2 separate regions of the Homo sapiens genome follow, and region 2 is linked to region 1. Evidence: promoter capture Hi-C in 16 types of primary human blood cells and fetal thymus (Javierre and others, 2016). All regions are on one chromosome and are shown on one strand. The core of a region is centred on a gene start or on the middle of the fragment in contact, and the rest is flanking DNA. Distances in the headings are between cores, read along the strand shown.

Region 1 (5,841 bases), core at 2,112-4,611:
GGAAGTAGAACAGAAACAGAAAGCCAGATAGCCTCTAGCAGACTGACAATCCTCAGGGAAATTTTATTTCTCTTTAGACATTTCCCAACGTAATAATTACCTTAATAATATCACCAGTTCCTTCAGTAACAGGTTTTGATCTGAGTTCTTCAATTTCTTTCTCCAATTCTAAACAATTAAAAAATAAAGGACTCCGGTTCAGAAATAAAGAACATAATTACTGGGAAACTGATAAGTACATTCTCACAAAACCCCCCATAAATCTGCAAATTAGAATATATTTAAGCAGAATAGTATGATTAATCTCTGCACTCATCACTATACTTCAGCATTACATGGCCAATTTTGTTTCCTCCCAACCTGTACTCACTTCCTCCTTCACTGCTTTTCTTATCCATCTGATAATTTTCAAGCATACCCCAGACATCATATTATTTCACCTGTAAGTACATCTTACTGTATAACCTTAAAGCAACAATCACATATTAAGAATAAACGTTATCGAGAACAGCCTGGCCAACATGGTGAAACCTCGTCTCTACTAAAAATACAAAAATTAGCCAGGCATGGTGGTGGGTGCCTGCAGTCCCAGTTACTCGGGAGGCTGAGGCAGGAGAATCGCTTGAACCCGGGAAGGGGAGGTTGCAGTAAGCCGAGATTGCGCCACTGCACTCCAGCCTGGCCAAGAAGAGCGAGACTCCGTCTTGAAAAAAAAAAAAAAAAAAGAGAGAGAGAGAGAAAAGAAACGTTAATCTAAGTGTTTAATTAGCAAATGCCTAGATCTCAGGCCTAGAACTTCTTTCCAAATAAATTATTCTCTTCATTGCAAGGTGATCCAAACTCCCAAGACATACTTTTATCTTTTCTAATAGAAAATAAGTCTTAGCTTTTAGGCTAAGCAGTTAATATTTATAAGTCACTGGAAATTCAAGAGCTCATGTACATATACTAAAAAAAAAAGGTGCTAAGATCTTTTTCCTTCTGGAATAAAAAGAAAACTGAATAGGGAATCAATCAACTTCAGCAGGTAAACATACTTCAATATCTGTAAATGGAAGTCTTTTATTATTTTAATTGAGGAAGCTTTCCATCTCTTTGGGCTTATCTTCTGTCTCTAACATTTCAACTGACTTCTCTTGAAAAAACACTTTACTCAGAACTCAGAAGAATCTAAAGTCTACATGAAGGAAAAACACACTTAACTTACACAAACTTTAAAAATCCTCCTCCCTGACTTTAACAACTCAAAAGTCACTGTGGTTTAGAGATGTGGGAATAATTTAGAAATCAGAGGTAAATTTTTAGAATGTTAAATAACAGATTCTACTACACTAAGGTGTACTTGGAATCACTGGAAAACAAACAAAAACAAGCCAATGCATTATTTTAAAAACTACCATTTTAAACCACGATTAAAGAGACTGTGATCAAGATGAGTATTTTCAACCCAATACCTGTACACCTTGATTTAGCTTTCTGTATTAGCATCATCTGTTTCTTGGCAAACTTGATGAGGTCTTCTTTGGGCAATGTTTCCAGCTGAAAGATGTGGTCATGTTACCAACTTGTTATAACTCATGTTTCTAGTATACCACAAAAAAGAAACAATGTCTGCTAGAAAACAAAAACATTCTACAGAATAAATCTTTATGCCAACCGCATACTTTGTTCCACATTTTTTTTTTGAGACAGAGTCTCGCTCTATTGCCCAGGCCGGAGTGCATGACACGATCTTGGCTCACTTGTAACCTCTGCCTCCCAAGTTCAAGCAATTCTCCTGTCTCAGCCTCCCAAATAGCTGGGATCATAGGCGCCCGCTACCACGTCCGGCTAATTTTTGTATTTTTAGTAGAGACGGGGTTTCACCATGTTGGCCAGGCTGGTCTCAAACTCCTGACCGCAGGTGATCTGCCCGCCTCGGCCTCCCAAAGTGTTGGGATTACAGGCGTGACCCACCGCGCCCGGCCACATTTTTTAAAATCAGCAAATGCAACGTCAATTCTGTAATTGCTATGCAACTACTAAAAATTAGTTATGCAACTACTATGAAACGTAAAAACCAGGCCATATCCTCTTATAGCTAATGTTACAGGTTGACATTGCTAGCTTTTGATTTAATTGTAAAATCAGTAGGTTGGAGCTAATGCTACTTAAAATTCCTTGGAGCTGTAAAATTATTTCATTCTATTCAAGGCTGCAAGTCTTTGGTCACAAGAAAATTTACGCATAATTACAGCAGCAAGATGAACCGGGTAACATTCAGGCTTTAATTAAAAAATTGAGCTTTACCACTTGAGAAAATTGCTTAAGCCTGTGGTCTCAGGTTTCTCATCTGTAAAAGGAGGGTAACAACAGTACCTATCTCATGGTTATCATGAAGCTTAAACGAAGGAACTGAGTGGTTAGGCAAGCGCCAGAAATTTAGCATGCACACAATAAACCTTAGCAATAAACCACTATCATTTAGAATGATTGAATGTTAAACATTGTACAGGGCCATAAAACTGGACTAATTAAACTCTTTGGCAATGTAGAAACTGGAGCCCACAGATCAGAATCCCTTGATTCCTACCCTATGTCACTGCTCCTTCCACTACACCACTATATAAACCTTCTTAGACTGCTTTATGTTCGAAAAATAGCAGGATCTCCCAGCAGTGCTAACCAGGAGCAGGAAGCAAACAAAAAGTCTTTCTATATCGGGGTGGGCGGGGGAGAAACAGGAAATGGGCGATTGCGCACACTAAAATTGAGATCCCTTGGAGCAAGGCTATTAAAAAAAAAAAAATCAGCGCCCCCCCCTTCCCCATGCCAAAGTTTTCCAATTCATCACCCTTCCACTCTTCAGGAAGCCCGCTATTCAAGTATTCTCTTCACCTTAGATTTCCCGGTCCCAGGGGTAGCTGGTGAAGCCACCCCATCTTGAACAAGATCCTGCAAAACAAAATCAAACCCAGGTGTCAGAAGAACTCTTTTCCTAATTCCACACGGAACGCGTAGAACCCTTACAGGGAAAAACCTTCTATGGAATCAAGTGGTGGAAAGCCTCGTGAGACAGAGAATGAGGGCGGACGGAGGCGGTCGCTGTGGCAATTCGTACACAAACGGGCTCTACGGGGCAGGTAACCCCCAGGGATAGAGTTTACGAAAGATGGGGAGGCGACAGCAGCGCGGGCTTCGGGACACCAAGAGGGAGACTACCGCGCCCTCCCATCGGGCCCACTCCCACATCCCAAATCGCGGCGCGGAAGGCTTGATGGGAGGCAGTGGGCCCGACCTGAGTTACCTCCATCTCCGCCAGCCCGCCGCCGGCCCGCAACCAGCCGCCGCCACCGCTGCACTTCTGTTTGCGCCAGCCTCTGACGTAGGCTCTACTGCAGGTCAAAGGTCGCGCTCTCCGGGCGGCCCGCCCCCCACGTCTCCATAGCTACAGCTCGGCAGCACTTCCGCTTCCGTGTCTGCGTCCGGGAGAAGGTTCCCCGTACGGCGCTAAGGGCGGAGTCCGTCTAGACGTTCTACCTGGGGCTCGACCCCTGGGCCTGCAGGTCACGGAGTAGGTGTGGGTCCCGCCACTGCCGGTTATTGGCATGGGAAGGCGGGCCGATTACCCCTTGGGGCCTCGGGCCTCGGTTTCCACGTCTGTAAAATCTTGTGAGAGTGAGGAACATTGGATTGCAGGACAGGTCTCTCAGTCCTCCAAAGGTGTCCGCTAGCCTGCGAGTGCCTGCGGGACCCACAGCTGGTTCCGGGGGGCTCCTTAGGCATTTGTGGCCAGCATGGTGCCCGGGAGCTCCGTGACTCACAGGTCAGGGATGCGGTAGAGGGCTTCCCTGAGGAGGCATTTCTTGACTCTGGAGGCTGTGAGGAGGTCCCTGGACAGCTCTGCCCTGCAGCCGCCCGGTACTGATGGTGATGTGGTGGAGGCAAGATAGTCGGCCAGGGAACTGGGCAGCCGTGGGAGGAGACTCTGTAGAGTAGGGGGCCCGAGGCCACCCTTTCCCGAAGGGCACGCCAGAGAATCTGTGGTCGAATCCCAGAGCTGCTGCTGTGTCCTGATTGGCGGTCCAGTGCTCTGAGAGCCTTTCTGTTAACTGCTGAAGTGGTTTGCTGCGCTTTCACCTTCCCATTAATGTTTTCCATACACTCCCATAACTAAGGTAACCTGAAGATAACCTAGTTTCCTGTAGTTTAAATGGTCAAAAGGTTGAAGAGGCAGCACACAGTATGTATCGAGTAAATGGTAGCTGATTATTACTAGGTAAAAGAAGTGTTATAAACGAGAAAGAACAGCTATTGTGGACATCTACTCTTTGTCTTTGACAGTGTGTATCACCTATGGTGTTTGTAGGATTGGTTCAGGGGTGGTGTGTGACCTAAGATGTACAGTCTCCACGTACAGTAACACACGTGTGTGTGTACACGTGTGTGTGTACACGTGTGTGTGTGCACGTGTGTGTGTGCACGTGTGCGCGCACGTGTGTGTGCACGTGTGTGTACACACATATATGCACACACATGTATACACACACACACACACAATCCCCAAGTATACATTGTTATTAATGGTCCAGATTAATGCCATTCAAAGTAGTTCCCCAAGTTAAGAGCAACTTACGGTAGACTCCTATTTCAATTAATAACTTGAAAAAATCACTTGCAATAAAATAGCAGGTTAACTAGATACTACACACATTCCAATCCTGTAAAAGTTTCTCAGAGAAACACTGTTAGATATAGTTACATTCCAGGAGTTTGGCTACATCAATAGCTACAGAAGAGTTGATGTTCTCACAGTAGAACTCTCTTTTTCTCATACTTGAAATAAAAAAGAACCTTTCTTTTCTTCCTTTGATCTTTCTTCCCTCGCCAGCCCTCCATTGCACTTGGCTGGGTAACAGGGTCCATGAGTTGCAGCTACAGGTAGGGCAGCGTCTCCTGGGAATCCCCAGGGAGATGAGGGTCAGCACACCCCTAAGCTCCAGGTCATCAGCGGCCTCCTCACACAGCTCGAGCTCACCCCCATCTGCCTTCCTGGTTGTCATTGGACAGGAATTTTATTTTCTGAGATGATGGAGGCAGGTATAATGTTCTTGACCATCGGATACCTTCTGTTGTTGTTCCTCTTAAGGAAGAAATCATTTATTTCTTCCTTCACTAGTTATAGTAAGTGCTGAAATCTTCTAAATATATTTATCATCTTTCATACTTTAAAGAATGAATATTTATGAATTGATTGTGAGTACTCTGAGATCTTCTGATATTCATAAACCTATAGGAAAGATCTGCTTTATATTTCACATTCTCTGGACTGCAGATAAGTTCACATTTTAAAGATGTATATTACCTTAATGAGCAGAACTATGACCTGTTTAACGAATATGTTTCTTTCCAATTGTAAAAGTAACACAGGTTCATTGTAGAACACCTGGAAAATATAGGAAAATTCCGAAAAGAAAATAAAAATCACCTTGAATCATTTATGGAAATAGAAAATAGGAACAATGTTAATAACAATGTCAATAATATGTGCTGTGCTGGTCACATTGTATAGTAGATGGAGACTGCTGTATGTTAACCAGCACTACTGAAACATAATATAATTTGAGCAAGTTGCAGGGTCTTGCCTAAGTAAAAATAGCTTCTTTACCAGTTTGGAATGGTGCCAACATGCCATTATCTCCTGAAGAGCCACATTAAAAGGCACCTGTTGCTTAGGGATGGTCCGGAGAGACACCTGATCTTTTTTTGTTAGTTCGCTAGCAAGTTTTATTTCAGAAAAATCAATCCTTGGCTCTTCAGTGCTTTGATTATAACTCTTAAGGTAAGCATGGAAAAACTACA
Region 2 (5,841 bases), core at 2,233-4,732, 1.8 Mb before region 1:
CACATGGGAACACTGTGTTATGCTGAGGTTTGGGGTACAGATGAGCCTATCACACAAGCAGTGAGCACAGTACCCAATAGGCAGTCTTTCAGTCTTCATTCCTCTTCCCTCCCCCACCCCACTCCAGCAGTCACCAGTGTCCATTGCTCCCATCTTTATGTCCATGTGTACTCAACGAGTGAGAACATATGGTATTTGGTTTTCTGTTCCTATGCTAATTCACTTAGGACAATGGCCTCCAGCTCCATCCATGTTGCTGCAAAGGACATGATTTCATTCTTTTTTATGGTTGCATATTTTTTCATGGTGTATATGTACCACATTTTCTTTATCCAGTCCACCATTGGTGGGCATCTATGTTGATTCCATGTCTTTGCTATTGTGAATAGTGCTGTAGGGAACATACACATGCATGTGACATTTTGGTAGAATCATTTCTTTTTTGGGGGTATATACACGGAAATGGGATTTCTGGGTCAAATGATAGTTCTGTTTTACGTTGTTTGGGAAATCTCCAAACTGCTTTCCACAGTGGCTGAACTAATTTTCATGCCCACCAACAGTGTATATGTGTACTCTTTTCTTGTCAGCCTCACCAGAATCTGTCATTTCTTGATTTTTTAATAATAGCCATTTTGACCAGTGTGAGATGGTACCTCATTGTAGTTTTAATTTGCATTTCTCTGATGATTAGTCATGATGAGTTAATTTTAAATTTAGTGGGACATTAGGAGAACCAGGAAAAGTTTTAGAAGGAAACTATAAAAATGATTATTAAAACAAACTATTAGAAAGATTATTCTCCCTGGAGAAATATTGGCTCTGGAGCCTTTTGATACCTTGACTATCTGGAAAGTTTGTTTTGATAGTATTAGCTAATTCTTCCCTGTCTTCACAGAGGACACCTGAAGCTGAATATGGAACAGATTTTCTATTCGGTGTCTGTAGGACAAGTAATCAACAGCCCCTCTGAGTCAGGCCTGTGATGACTGGCTCTATCACTAGGTGTGTGAATTTTGTAAATAACACTCAGATGGATGCCAAATTGCAAGAGTAGAGAAGAAACTAATGGAATTTTCTCTTTTTTCATCCACTTTATCTTCTCTACGTAATCTATAGAAAACAGACCAAAGAAGTATGTGCCTTTTTGGAGAGTATATTGACAAAGTTACATATAGTGTTAGTAAACAAACTACTAAGTCAAGAGAAACAAAGTCATGATACATTCAATACAATGGATACCACTCAGTAATGAGAAGGAATGAACTAATGGTACACACAACAATATGGAAGTATCTCAAAAACATGCTTTGTGGAAAGGTTACACAAGAGTGCTTACTGTATGAGTCCATTTATATAAAATTTCAAGAACAGGCAAAACTAATTTATGTTGGAAAAATATCAAAACAGGTTTGTCTGTGGAGGAATAAGGAGGGGATTTACTGGCAAGGGCATGAGGGAACTTACTAGGGTGATGGTAGTTTTCTACATCTTGATAAGAATTTTGGTTACACAGATGTATGCATTTGTCGAAACTCAGCAAATGTATGCCTCGTATTTGTGCATTTCACTATATACATATTTTACATCAACTATTGAACTTTAGTTAGTGACATCCATAGTCCATTATTTAGGGAGAAATGTATTGATAACTGCAACTTACTTTGAAAGGCATAAGGTGGGTTGACGGATAGATCAAATAAGTATAGTATAATGTTAATGTTTTTTCTAGGTAGCGGGTATATGGGTTTTCACTGTAAAATTTTTAAAACTTTGTTGTATGTTTAAAAGTGTTCATTATAAAATATTGGATAAAAAAAGAAGTTTTCTTTCCTAAGGCGATATGGTATTTAATAATGTGATATTTTAAATGGTCTCCATAGGTTGATAGTTTGCTTTCTGAGAGCCAACTGAAAGAAGCTCTAGAACCCAATAAAAGACAACATATTTATCAAAGGTAAAGTATGCTAAATTATATAAGCTTTACAGGAACCGCACTTACATTTCAATGCATAGTATTTAAGGCATAGAGATTGGTCCTTTGGAATCAAATGGAAGAATCACATAGTGTTGTAAGTTGAATGTAGAAGAAACCAACCTAAACCTGATGGTTGCGGACTTGCTGTTGTGACAGCAACTATAAAAACTGCTTAATGTAAACATAGGTGACATGGGCAGGATTACCCTAAATCCTTAGCCTATGTAGCCCAGATCCTGTGACCTGGTCAGAAACCTCTGTCTATAAGCAATTAGTACTTCATTGGGATGTCAACTTTAACTCCCATGAGAAGACAACACTGTTTTCTAGGTGGGTGTTTTTTGTTTTGTATTTGTTTTTACTTAAAAAAAAATCCTTGGGAGAGTTTAAATAGACGTGATGAACTACATCAAATTTAGACTATTAATTCATAACATTTGTATTAAGTTTAGGACATCATTAAGATAATCTTTGTTTTTGAGATATTTAAGGATTTTATTACATTCCAAAGAACATGAGATTCATTCTATTAATTTAAGTGAATTGTAATTGTTTGGAGAAGTTTTACTTAAGTCAGGCATTCAGAGTGCTTAAAGGCAAAACAAATGAATTTTGAAATGTCAAATGAATTTAATTTATAATAGTAGGATTGATTAAGGGATTTAGTTCAAGCTGAATTAACAGTAATGAAAGAAAAGCAAAGGTTATTGTTCTTGCTTTACTAGATTTAAAAACAGAGTAAGATTTATAGACTGAATTTGAAGGCCAAGGGAAAACTACGTTTTTAAATTTTATGTTAGTAAACTAAAAATCATAATTATTATTATTTTATTTTTTGAGACTAAATCTCACTCTGTCACCCAGGCTGGAGTGCAGTGGCGCAATCTCGGCTCATTGCAACCTGCACCTCCCAGGTTCAAGCGATTCTTCTGCCTCAGGCTCTTGAGTAGTTGGGATTACAGTCGTGCCCCACCACACCTGGCTGGATTTTGTATTTTGAGTAGAGATGGGTTTCATCACGTTGGCCAGGCTGGTTTCGAACTCCTGACCTCAAGGGATCCCCCAGCCTTGGCCTCCCAAAGTGCTGGGATTATAGGTGTGAGCCACTGTGCCCAGCCTAATAATTGTTATGTTTTATTTTTTTTGAGATAGAGTCTCTCTCTGTCGCCCAGGCTGGAGTGCAGTGGCATGATCTCGGCTCACTGCAAGCTCCACCTCCCAGGTTCAAGCGATTCTCCTGCCTCAGCCTCCCGAGTAGCTGGGATTACAGGTGCCCGCCACCATGCCTGGCTAATTTTTTGTATTTTTAGTAGAGATGGGGTTTCACCGTGCTAGCCAGGATGGTCTCAATCTCCTGACCTCATGCCCCCTGCTTTGGCCTCCCAAAGTGCTGGGATTATAGGCGTGAGCCACCGCGCCCGGCCCCTAATAATTATTTTTAAGCCCAAGTAACCATAGTCTTCTCTGTGCATGAAAAGAAGATTGTTACTGTCATTTAAAAACTCACTTTGACATTTGCATATCTGAAAATGTCATTTAGGTATCATTTTTATCTGCTCAGTGCTCTGAGTCTTTTCAGTTTGAAAACTCATGTCTCATGAGCTCTGGGAGATTTTATTTTACAAAAAGATTATTTCGTTAATTCCATTTGTCTGTTTCTTCCTGAAACACCTTTGAGTCAGGTATTGGATATCCTGGACTGATCCTCTATATCCCATAACTTCCTGTTAATAGTTTCTGTTTCTTTGTTTGTATGGGAGATGTTTTTTTGGGGGGATGTGGGGGGTCTCACTCTGTCGTTCAGGCTGTAATGAAGTGGCACAATCATGGCTCACTGCACCTTCTGCCTCCCAGGCTCAAGGGATGCCCCCCTCCCCCGCCACGAGCTACCATGCTAGCAATTCTCTTGACTTTAACACTTTTCTTTATTACCTATTTCAACAGCCATATTGTTTTATTTCAGCAGTCATATTGGTTTTTTTTTTTTTAAGATGGAGTCTCACTCTGTCATGATCTTGGCTCACTGCAACCTCTGCCTCCTGGGTTCAAGCGATTCTCCTGCCTTAGCCTTCTGAGTAGCTGGGATTACAGGCTCACGCCATCACACTCGGCTAATTTTTTGTATTTTTAGTAGAGACGGAGTTTCACCATGTTGGCCAGGCTGCTCTCAAACTCCCGACTTCAGGTGATCCACCCATCATGGCCTCCCAAAGTGCTGGGATTACGTGAGCCACCGTGCCTGGCCATCATCAGTCATGTTGTTAATTTACAAGTGTTTTCTCTTGTTCTCGAATTGTTCTTTTTTCATAGCATCATGTTCCTGTTTTCATATTGATTGCCTTCTTACTACTTCCATGACTAGGAGGCTTTTTTTTTCTCCTTAAGTTCTCTTCTGTTCTCTGAATTGTCTTTGCTTTCTCTGGGCTCAGATTCCTTTTAATTAGTTAATTAATTAATTTATATTTGGTTATTCTTAAATTTTATCTTCACGTTGCCGGTTTTCTTTATTAGGTCTGGCTTATCTATTTTTATTGAACAATGAGGGACTAGGTTGATTATTCCAGAGAGCTCTCATGGGCTTTTCTACTGTTAGATAGAGAGGGGTCCTTCCTGCTAGTACCATCCCCTGAATAAGAATGAAATTTTGTATGTTGATAGGGCTTATCAGAGGCTCGGAAGTAGCTTTTAGTCTGAGGATCCCCCAGTGCCAGAATAGGGCCGGCTCTAACCCTGGTGTATGGGAAACTTCTTTAGCAGTCATGATTCTCTTCAGGTCGTTTGTTAATTGTTTTTGTTTGTTTTTTTGTTTTTAGGGAAGAATCCCCTGGTAAGGAGGGAGAGCAGAGAGGGGAAAAGGGAGCTAACTGGCTCAGGTTTTCTGTAAATAGACTTTTAAAAGAAAGAACCCCAACTAAATCTAAACGTAATCAGTATCATTAATCTTCCCTTGACTAATATAAAGACCTTAGATTGCTTTAACATTGATTTCCCTCCTCAAAGCTTAGATGTATGCATATGATTTAATTTACACAATATAACACAATAATATTAGATAATTTATAAAGTAAACCCCAGCCACTGTGCATGTCTTTTCATCAGCAGAATTTCATAATGTGTCCCTCTATGATTTAGTTTAGTTAACCTTTGGTCCTTTATGTCTGCTGACTCAAGTCCTAGAGTTTTCGGCCTGGCAGATTATCTCCCTCTTATGCTTGTGTTGCGTCTTCCACCCTTTATAGGAGAACATGCTTCCAGCCTTTTTCCATGGAGCAGAAATTTGTTGAAATCTCTTGCTGGCTAGTTGTCCTTCTTTCCTTCTTTGCAGTGTTCAGAGTTTGTTACCTTTTCAAACGTTTTAATCATTTTTTGTGGGGTTTCAGGAGCCAGTGAAGATGAATGTGTGCTTAGTTTTTATCCTGAACCAGGAGTCTTAAAATATCAACTGTTTGAGGATTTTAATAATTACATAGTTATAAAGGAGGTAATTGTAATAAGTAATTTATTTTCTTGGTACATTATATTAAAATAGTTTTCCACTCTGGGCTTTAAGCGAAATTTCTGAGTCTAAGTTTCAGTAGAGATTTTTTTGGTCAAGTAACATGACACCTGCCAAAATAAGCGGCTTTACTGTCAGTCTCATTTGACAAAAGCCTGCAGCTAGGTTCTCTCAGGGTGGATTCATGGCTTGTGATATCCTCAAAGACCAGCCTTTGATGTCATTCCACTCTGCCATCCTTTGCTTGTTGGTGATGTCTCTCCTCATGGTTACAAAGTCCATACCCTCAGTATCTAAGAGCAGATGTAGGAGAGATTCTTTTCATGCCTGGTAAGGGAGGATAAAATGGGAGGCAATCCCAATATAC

The links. Contacts are between HindIII fragments. The CHiCAGO score rates a contact against its expected background, and 5 or more counts as called.
Region 2: a fragment that was not itself captured here is called in contact with the fragment with the promoter of GCC2 in region 1 in 1 of 17 cell types (naive CD8 T cells); the score reaches 6.2 in naive CD8 T cells.

What each region holds. Positions count from the first base shown.
Region 1 is chr2:108,446,726-108,452,566 of GRCh38, reverse strand. It overlaps GCC2 (GRIP and coiled-coil domain containing 2), which reads right to left and starts at 3,361. Exons shown (of 23, transcript NM_181453.4): 1 at 3,287-3,361; 2 at 2,878-2,934; 3 at 1,455-1,539; 4 at 101-168. The coding sequence starts at 3,292. RefSeq lists enhancers at 1,370-1,870, 1,871-2,371, 2,457-3,438, 3,275-3,534, 3,439-4,421. The HindIII fragment of the contact is 5,578 bases long and covers 2,383-5,841 here.
Region 2 is chr2:110,197,537-110,203,377 of GRCh38, reverse strand. NPHP1 (nephrocystin 1) reads left to right here. Exons shown (of 20, transcript NM_001128178.3): 2 at 1,884-1,957. Among named protein-coding and RNA genes, the nearest start is that of NPHP1, 4.6 kb to the left of the region's middle. The HindIII fragment of the contact is 2,997 bases long and covers 1,984-4,980 here.